Linked DNA regions of Homo sapiens: all the other regions are linked to region 2. The links are contacts of gene promoters, found by promoter capture Hi-C in blood cells and fetal thymus (Javierre and others, 2016). All regions are on one chromosome and are shown on one strand. Each heading gives the region's core, a stretch centred on a gene start or on the middle of the fragment in contact. The rest is flanking DNA. Distances are from core to core; before and after follow the strand shown. Region 1 holds the start of AVPR2 (arginine vasopressin receptor 2). Region 2 holds the start of BCAP31 (B cell receptor associated protein 31). Region 3 overlaps L1CAM-AS1 (L1CAM antisense RNA 1).

Region 1 (2,778 bases), core at 279-2,778, 180 kb after region 2:
GCCAGTTGAGGGAAGCCATCTCCTATTCCACTGATCTGGGTGGCATTAGGAAGGCCTTTTCTATGCTCCTAGATTAGTGACAGCATGCGGTTATTGGGGACAGCATGAGGATGTGCATGCGCTGAGGAGATGCAGCTGAAGCGTCAGGCCTGGGGTGCCAGCACTCTGCAGCCTGCCCCCAAGGGGCTCTGCAAAAACATGGCAAAGATGCGGGGTGTGATGTGCACCTGTGTGTGCTGCGGGTGTGTGCGTGTGTGGTGTTGGCTGTGCGTATGTGGTGTGTATGGCTGTGTGGTGGGTACATGTGTGGGTGTGTGGCGTATGGGAGTGTGTGATGTGTGCATGTGTGTGGTGTGTAATATATGTGTGCATGGTGTGGTGTGTGTGTGGTGTGGCGTATGGGTGTGTGGTGGGTGCATGTGTGTGTGGCGTGTGGCTGTGTGCATGTATGTATGTGGTGTGGTGTGTGCGCTGTCTCTGGAAAATGCCCACCCTGTGTTCCCACCACCCTAACAGGGCCGGGAGGGGCCAGGGTGCTGCCAGGCTCTCTGGGCAGGAAGAGGAGGCCTTGGCCGCGGGCCGGACTTGGGCCTGGTCCGTGAGGCTGTTTTGGTCTCTGGCTTCACAGGCAACAGAGAAGACAGACAAACAGGAAGAAAGCAGCTGCCTTGGGCTGGGCTGGGCTGGGCTGGCCTCGGCTGAGCCAAGCCAGGCCTGGGTGCGGGGGGAGTGGAAAGAGAACTACTGGGATGGGGGCTGGAGGGGGTGTGGGGACAGGGGAAGGAGAGAGGTGTTGGGGGAGGGAGGAGGAGGGCTCAGGTACAGGGAAGGTGCGTCCATACTCATGGTATGTTCAAGAACATGAGCGAGCGTCTCTGTGTTGTGTGTTTGTGGCTGTGTGGCTGTATCATGTGAGGTTGTGTGTGGTGGGAGGGAGCCCGTGAGCACACGGAGGTCCCCAGCCCCTCTTCCTAGGACAGGTAGTTGCAGGTGGGGCAGGAGGAAGAGGGTGGGGGTGTCCCTGGATCTCACAGGGGTTCGTGAAGCCTGGCTTGGCCCCTGCCCCACTCCTCCCTTTCCTGTCCCTCGTCTCCGGCCAACTGGGCCCTAACTGGGGAGGAGGAGGGGCCTGCGTGGGCCTGGGAGGGGCCCAGCGAAAGTGTTTTCACCCCTTCCTTGCCTGGGCCCAGCGAGGAGCAGGAGGACCCCAACTTGGGAAGGGGGCGTGAAGCTCCCATGAAAAAGCAGCGCAGTCCTGGGCCAGACCCACCGCTCTCTGGCCTCAGTTTCCCCACTTATAAAATGGGAATGCTGAACTAAGTGACCTCCCAGAGCACTGCCAACCCAGACAATCCAACCAGGGGGGCGTGGTAGGGTGAGGGTGGGCGTGGAGGCTATGGCAGTGGGAGGAGGGAGTCCTGGGCCGGGACCAGGGAGGCCCTGGGGAAAGGAAGGGAAACAGGAGGCCAGGGGAGGCCTGGGGGAAAGGGGGAGGGGGAGGAAGTCCCCTCCTGGCCAGGTCACTCCCAGAGGCTGGGCTGGGCCAGGGCAGGGCAGCCGATGGAGAGCAGATCTGAGCACCCAGCCACCTTCACGCCACCGCCCAGCTGCCCAGGAGCCCAGCCAGGTAAGGGGCTGCGCCTGCCTGCCCCCCTGCCCAGTCCCCAGCCCTCGGATGGTGGCCTCTCTCGGCCTCGGTTGGGGCAGGGGAGTTCTGCGTGTCTGTCTGGGGTGCCCACTCCCAAACCCGGGACTCATGGGCTGCCTGGGGGATCCTGGGTTCTGTGCATCCGTCTGTCTGACCATCCCTCTCAATCTTCCCTGCCCAGGACTGGCCATACTGCCACCGACACGTGCACACACGCCAACAGGCATCTGCCATGCTGGCATCTCTATAAGGGCTCCAGTCCAGAGACCCTGGGCCATTGAACTTGCTCCTCAGGCAGAGGCTGAGTCCGCACATCACCTCCAGGCCCTCAGAACACCTGCCCCAGCCCCACCATGCTCATGGCGTCCACCACTTCCGGTAAGGCTTGCCCCTCCATGAGTCCGGTGGGCAGAGTGGGTTTGACGATTCAGGGAAGCCCCTCTTTCTAAAGACCTCCTTCACCCTCACCTCTGGGTGTGTCTCTCCAGGCTGCCAATGAGTGGGGAGGGGAGCACAGCCCCACTTCCCCGCCAGGGCTGGGGCTGGGGCTGGGGCTGGGGCTGCCCTTCCTTCTGGACTGCATGAGCCTGGGGTGTGTATCCCTCATAACATGGCTTTCCTGGAGTCCCCTCTGCTAGGAGCCAGGAAGTGGGTGTCCGGATGGGGGCACGGGAGGCAGGCCTGAGTCCCCCTGCACAGCACCCTCTCTAACCAGGCCCTCTTCCCGACTCCTTCCCAGCTGTGCCTGGGCATCCCTCTCTGCCCAGCCTGCCCAGCAACAGCAGCCAGGAGAGGCCACTGGACACCCGGGACCCGCTGCTAGCCCGGGCGGAGCTGGCGCTGCTCTCCATAGTCTTTGTGGCTGTGGCCCTGAGCAATGGCCTGGTGCTGGCGGCCCTAGCTCGGCGGGGCCGGCGGGGCCACTGGGCACCCATACACGTCTTCATTGGCCACTTGTGCCTGGCCGACCTGGCCGTGGCTCTGTTCCAAGTGCTGCCCCAGCTGGCCTGGAAGGCCACCGACCGCTTCCGTGGGCCAGATGCCCTGTGTCGGGCCGTGAAGTATCTGCAGATGGTGGGCATGTATGCCTCCTCCTACATGATCCTGGCCATGACGCTGGACCGCCACCG
Region 2 (3,083 bases), core at 584-3,083:
AACGGCTTTTAAAAATACCTGTGGAGATTTGGCCTTATTTGTAATATCGTAATTTAAATAGGGATGTGTTCAGGTATTATACATAATTAAAATTAATCTCCAATTCACTTTTAACAGGTCCTCTGTTCATTAAAAGGGAATATGGCTTCATCCTCCACAGGCTGAGTAATGTTCATGCAGCCACTGCGCAATACCAGTGAGACTAGTTAGGAGGACAAGAGTCACCAAATCAGCAACAACGTGACCCAGTGGTGCAAGTCTTCCGAATCCCACGCTACCATCCCAGCACCCCGTGGACCAAGAGTGGGTGGGAGGGCATCATTTCCAGAACTGTAACATAGATCTTCCTGCCTCTCGGGGGCATTCTGAAGACCAGAAGGCAGGGGACACAGGAAAAGGAACTGAGCAAGTCATGACGAAGCAGAACCCTGGGAAGGGTTGGCAATAACAAACACAACCCCTGCCACCCCCACCCCAGACAGGTTCTACCTGTTCCATCGGGTCCCAATTCCAGGGTCCACCAGCTGCACACACCAGTCCCAGGGCTAGGGCACAGGCACCCTCCTGCCTAACTCGCCTGCTTGCTCCATAGGCCATACCTTTTAGGAGAAATGAAGGGAATGCAGAGAAGCAACACAACAAAGACCTCCGCATAGAGGAAGGTGGCAACTGCAGTCCACTGCAGACTCATCCTGTTGCTAGAAGGTTTCCCACAGGAAGATGTGAGCTTGTTTCCTGGCAGGGCACAAAAGGTACGGGACTTGTAAGCGCTGGGCAGCCAAGAACATCCAGTTCAGTTACCCTGCGAGGCTGGGGCCGCCACTCTCCACCCTGACCCCCTGCACTTTGCTTCAAAGTCTCTGATGCGCTGGCGGAAGCAGGGCTCCACTCGGCAGGGCCTCTTGGCCAGCAGCGTTCACAGGCCCCACAAACTTCCGTTCGCTGGTCAATTACCTGCCCCCTCCAGCACGTGTGTCAACACGTCCAGAGCGGCCTCTCCCGACGATCCCTGCCCCAGGAAGCCCGAGATTTCCGACGCCCGTTTAACTGAAAGGCGTTCTTCGGGAAGAGCAGTGCCAGGGCACCAAGAGGAGGACGCCTCGGCACCCATCGGGCGCTCCCTTCCCCGCCAGGCAGAACTCAGCCGCAGAGGCGGGCGCTCTGCGGGCCCAAATCCCCGCTACCAGGCAGGCCCAAGGCCGCACCTAGTCCAAGCGCTGCCGACGCCCCCGCCTCCCACCGTCCCCACGGCGCCCGCGGAGAGAAACCGGCACCTCCCTCGAGGATCCAGCGGCCTTCCGCCCGGGGCCGCTTCGCCTCCGGTGGGCTGGAGGCCCGCAAGAGCGACTCCTAGAGGGCAGGATTCGGGACCAAGCGCAAAGGCAGGTCTCGACCAAGCACCTCAAGGCCCCATACGGAGAAAGTTCTAGACGCAGTATCCTCAGAAGCCAGGGGTCCTTACAGTAGCCCTCGCGGGCCCCAGCGCCCACCCAGAGCGAGGGGCCTCCGACTTGGCCCCGGCCTGGCACACCGTCCCGGAGGCCCATCCCGGCCGCTCCTCCAGGTGGGGCTTCACCGCCCCCCGCCCCGCCCCCGAGACCAGCTTCTAGAGGCGCCGCCCGGTTTCCCCTCGCCCCTGCCTCTCACACGCAGGTAGGCTGCGGGCCCCGAGATTCCCCGGCCCCCGGGCCTCCCCGCGCCGCTCGCCTCTCTCCCTCGTCGATGGGCCGGGGAGCCTCCGCGGTCCCGGAGCCCAGCCCGGCGCGCGGAGCCCGCTCACCGAGTTTCCCACAGTCAACGTGCAGGCCCCGCCGCAGCAACAGAACTCTCCCACAGCAGCCCCGGCCCCGCCCCTCATACCGCGGCCGGAAACCGGAAGCGCCCGCCGGGCACCGCCCACCAGCCCTCGCGAGGCCCCGGAGGCTCCGCCCACCTCCGCTTCCCACCCCGCCCCGGAGCGGAGGGCCGGCGCTCCGAGCGGGAGAGGAAGAGGCGCCTCGGGCTCCGGGCGAGCAGGGCGGGGTGGAGCGAGCACGCGGGCGGGGCGGGGCGGGGCTTTGTCGGGCCGGCGAGGGCCGCTTCTCTAGTCCGCGCGGCCGTCCCACGTCTCTGTGGTGCGGGAGGGGCCCCGCCGAGGGGCGAGAACGGGAGGTGGGGGTGTGGGCGGGCCCCGCCGAGGGGCGAGAACAGGGTGGGGCTCCCGCGCCCGGACTCCGCCCCTCGCCCCTCCTCCGCCTCCTCCCCTTCCCCCGACTCGCCCCTGGGGAAGAGTGGGTGGGGATTCTGGGCCGGTGGAGGAGTCACTGTCGCTTCAGCCAGGCTGCGGAGCGGACGGACGCGCCTGGTGCCCCGGGGAGGGGCGCCACCGGGGGAGGAGGAGGAGGAGAAGGTGGAGAGGAAGAGACGCCCCCTCTGCCCGAGACCTCTCAAGGCCCTGACCTCAGGGGCCAGGGCACTGACAGGACAGGAGAGCCAAGTTCCTCCACTTGGGCTGCCCGAAGAGGCCGCGACCCTGGAGGGCCCTGAGCCCACCGCACCAGGGGCCCCAGCACCACCCCGGGGGCCTAAAGCGACAGTCTCAGGGGCCATCGCAAGGTTTCCAGTTGCCTAGACAACAGGCCCAGGGTCAGAGCAACAATCCTTCCAGCCACCTGCCTCAACTGCTGCCCCAGGCACCAGCCCCAGTCCCTACGCGGCAGCCAGCCCAGGTGACATGCCGGTGCTCTCCAGGCCCCGGCCCTGGCGGGGGAACACGCTGAAGCGCACGGCCGTGCTCCTGGCCCTCGCGGCCTATGGAGCCCACAAAGTCTACCCCTTGGTGCGCCAGTGCCTGGCCCCGGCCAGGGGTCTTCAGGCGCCCGCCGGGGAGCCCACGCAGGAGGCCTCCGGGGTCGCGGCGGCCAAAGCTGGCATGAACCGGGTATTCCTGCAGCGGCTCCTGTGGCTCCTGCGGCTGCTGTTCCCCCGGGTCCTGTGCCGGGAGACGGGGCTGCTGGCCCTGCACTCGGCCGCCTTGGTGAGCCGCACCTTCCTGTCGGTGTATGTGGCCCGCCTGGACGGAAGGCTGGCCCGCTGCATCGTCC
Region 3 (3,167 bases), core at 282-2,781, 160 kb after region 2:
ACCCCCAACTCCCAGATTTTCCTCCAGCTCTCTGGTGTCTTATTTCTTTGTCCTCGGGATTGGCCCCATTCGACCTTTCCCGCCGACTCCACTCTCTCCCACTCTCCCCCGCAGCCCTGCACAGGATCGAGAAGGAAGGAGCTCCTCCCCAGTGCCCCCTCCTAGGCTCAAGGCCATGACCTCACAGGCGAGGAAGCAAAATGGAGGGGGTAAGAATTCCGGAGCCGGCGAGCTGGCTGCAGCCTCAGGGCTAGGAAGGCCTAGGGCCCCGATGGCAGATTGCAGATCTGGCGGCCACGGTATTTTTATGGGCATGCCTGTTGCCCAGTGAAGCATTCCAGGGGCCCTCGACTCAGTCTCACAAGACTCCCCAAGTGGTGTGGGGCCCTGGAGGGCCCACATGGGAGCAGCCCTGGCATCCTGGCTTGGATGCCCCACCCCCATAGTGCCAGCTTCAGTTCCCCTGGAATGGGAAGCTTGGGGTGGACCCATCTGTGCTCAGAGAGGGTCTGGATGCCATGTTTGCCCAGCCTTTAGGAGGAGAATGGACAAGACTAGGCACCTGAGTGAAGACGGACGGCTAGGGAGACTGCTTCCAGAGTGGGGGCACTTGCAGGGCATCTTCAGGTGACAGCAGAGGAAACTGAGCCCGCCTGGGTCACGAGGCCAGCAGGCTCATGAGCTGGGCCAAGAGGGCGTACTTTCCATGAGGCACTGAGCTGTGGTCAGCTTCCTGCCTTTGCTGATCTGAACTCTGATAGGCCTCTCTCCTTTCCAGTTGCTGCCTCCACTCACTCCCTACGTTCCCAGCCTTTCCTCCAAGCCCCAACTTCTGCAAATCCTTTACCTAATCTAGGGTTTGATGCCCATCAGGATGGTGAAGTAAGCAGGGAATAGAGCCCGTTTATACGCACCTGCTAATGTGTAGTGATGGGTCCATTTATGGTAACAAAAAATTCATTACTAGGATTACACGACATCACATTTCCTGAGCACAGCCATGGACCTGCCATCGTTACATTTCCTGCACATTTAAATTGCACACCAACCTGGGGAGGTCTGTTGAAGCATTCGCCCCACGTTACAGATGAGAAAACCAAAGCCCACAGAGCTCAAGGCTGGGTCCAGCAAGCACAGTTAGGAAGGTCTCTTTCTCTCCACTGGCTCATTGCATCCACACACACACCCCAGATGATGGTGCTGTTATTATCCTCACTCTCCCAGTGAGGTACCCAAGGTCCAGAGAGGGGCAGTCATGCAACCAGGAAGAAATTGGCACTATCAGTGCCCCCATTTCACAGATGAGGAAACCAAGGTTCAGAGGGGTCAAATGACCCACCCAAGATAGCCCAGAAGGTAAATGGCAGAACTCGGACTTGAATTCCCTTCTGCTTGACCACGATGCCCATTCTCACTTCCATGTAATGAAGTGGAGGAGCCAATGGGAGCAAGAGCAAGAGTGACAGAAGACCAAGGGCAGAGCAAGTCCCAGGAGAAGCAGGAGGGACTGGCCCTGAACAAGAGGCAAGCCACCCCCCCACTGCCATGTGCTTGCTGTTGGAGGTTAGGGGGACACCAAGTAGACAGATGACTGTCTCTTTCCCTTCAACGTCAAGTGCTTCTCACAGCCCTGCTCCCTGTGACCCAGCCCTCATAGACACAGTGGACTGGACAAGGGAAGCCCCAGACTCTGACCCTGTGATGAGCATGCAGAAGACGCAGAAGCCACAGACGACAGTGGGGCAGTAAGGAAGTGCCAGCAGGCAGGCGGGGTGGGCTCAGCCAGACGTGTCTTTCTCTGTTCTCCTTTCAATCTTTCTGTGTCTTCATATCTCAGGTGTAGCGCTTGGAAACAGCACATAGTTGGGTTTTGGTTTGGTTTGATTCTGTCTAACAATTCTTGTCTTTTTAAAAATCAGCTTTGAGACCTGCCTGGGCAACACAGCGAGACCACGTCTCTACAAAAAAAATTTTAAAATTAGGCATGGTGGTGCATGTCTGTAGTCCCAACTACTCAGGAGGCTGAGGTGGGAGGATCGCTGGAGCCCAAGAGGTTGAGGCTACAGTGAGCCATGATCACACCACTACACTCCAGCCTGGGTGACAGAGTGAGACCCTGTCTCAAAAAAAAAAAAAAAAAAATCAACTTTATTGGAGTATAATTTACATACAGTAAAATTCATCCTTTTGAGGTTTACAGTTCAAGGAGTTTTGGTGAATGTTGTGTGCAGCCAACCACTCCCACCACCCCCTGCCCTTGGCCACCACTGATCTGATTTCTGTCTTTTCTAAATTTTATTATAAATGGAATCATACCGTATATATTCTTTTGTCTGGCTTCTTTCACACTCACGCAGCATACTTTTTGAGCTTCATCCATGTTGGTGTGTGTGTTTGTGTGTGTGTGTGAGAGAGAGAGAGAGAGAGCATGCGGGCGAGAGAGAGCAGTATATTTCCTTTTGATTGCCGAGTAGTATTCCATTGTTTGGTTGGATCAGGGTTTGTTCAGCCATTCACTCACTGAAGGACACTTGGGTAGTTTCCAGCTTTGTGTGATTATGATGGAGCAGCTCTAAACATTTATATGCAAGCTTGTGTAAATGTGTGTCTTCATTTCTCTAAGGTAACCGCTTAGGAGTGGATTGTTCAGTCAAGTGGTAGATTGATGTTGAACCTGCCTTTGTCTTTGAACTGTGCAGGTCAGCTGGTCACACGGTGATGACTGCTGCTATCTCTGGATGTAGTCACGCCAGGTGAGTATTTGCTTTCTATTTGTCCTGCTTTCCCCATCTCTCTCCCCCACCTCCACTTTATTATTTTTTATTAGTGTTGTTATTACTTTGAGACAGGGTCTCACTCTGTTCCCTAGGCTGGAGTGCAGTGGTGTGATCATGGCTCACTGCAACCTCGACCTCCTGGGCTCAAGTGATCCTCCCACCACAGCCTCCCAAGTACTGGGACAACAGATGTGCCACCACCACACTTGATTAATTTTTTTTTCTTTTTTGGTAGAGGTGAGGTCTCACTATGTTGTCCAGACTGGTCTTGAACTCCTGGGCTCAAGTGGTGATCCACTGCCTTGGCCTCACAAAGTGCTAGGATTACAGGAGTGAGTCACTGCACCTGGCCTCACCCCCACATTGTATCAGTGAAGGTGTGTCTGGAGT

What was found. The method cuts DNA at HindIII sites, captures the fragments that hold promoters and counts their contacts. A CHiCAGO score of 5 or more calls a contact.
Region 1: the fragment with the promoter of AVPR2 here is called in contact with the fragment with the promoter of BCAP31 in region 2 in 15 of 17 cell types (non-activated CD4 T cells, M1 macrophages, naive B cells and 12 more); the score reaches 10.6 in non-activated CD4 T cells.
Region 3: a fragment that was not itself captured here is called in contact with the fragment with the promoter of BCAP31 in region 2 in 3 of 17 cell types (total B cells, activated CD4 T cells and M1 macrophages); the score reaches 5.2 in total B cells.

What each region holds. Positions count from the first base shown.
Region 1 is chrX:153,903,145-153,905,922 of GRCh38, forward strand. It overlaps AVPR2 (arginine vasopressin receptor 2), which reads left to right and starts at 1,529. Exons shown (of 4, transcript NM_000054.7): 1 at 1,529-1,627; 2 at 1,830-2,026; 3 at 2,388-2,778. The coding sequence starts at 2,002. The HindIII fragment of the contact is 5,945 bases long and covers 1-2,778 here.
Region 2 is chrX:153,722,554-153,725,636 of GRCh38, forward strand. It overlaps BCAP31 (B cell receptor associated protein 31), which reads right to left and starts at 1,834. Exons shown (of 8, transcript NM_001256447.2): 1 at 1,781-1,834; 2 at 600-735. The coding sequence starts at 691. It overlaps ABCD1 (ATP binding cassette subfamily D member 1), which reads left to right and starts at 2,303. Exons shown (of 10, transcript NM_000033.4): 1 at 2,303-3,083. The coding sequence starts at 2,714. RefSeq lists silencers at 1,113-1,292, 1,503-2,462 and an enhancer at 2,923-3,083. The HindIII fragment of the contact is 9,880 bases long and covers 1-3,083 here.
Region 3 is chrX:153,886,849-153,890,015 of GRCh38, forward strand. L1CAM-AS1 (L1CAM antisense RNA 1) reads left to right here. Exons shown (of 7, transcript NR_130768.1): 6 at 115-209; 7 at 1,649-2,142. Among named protein-coding and RNA genes, the nearest start is that of L1CAM, 2.3 kb to the left of the region's middle. The HindIII fragment of the contact is 2,115 bases long and covers 475-2,589 here.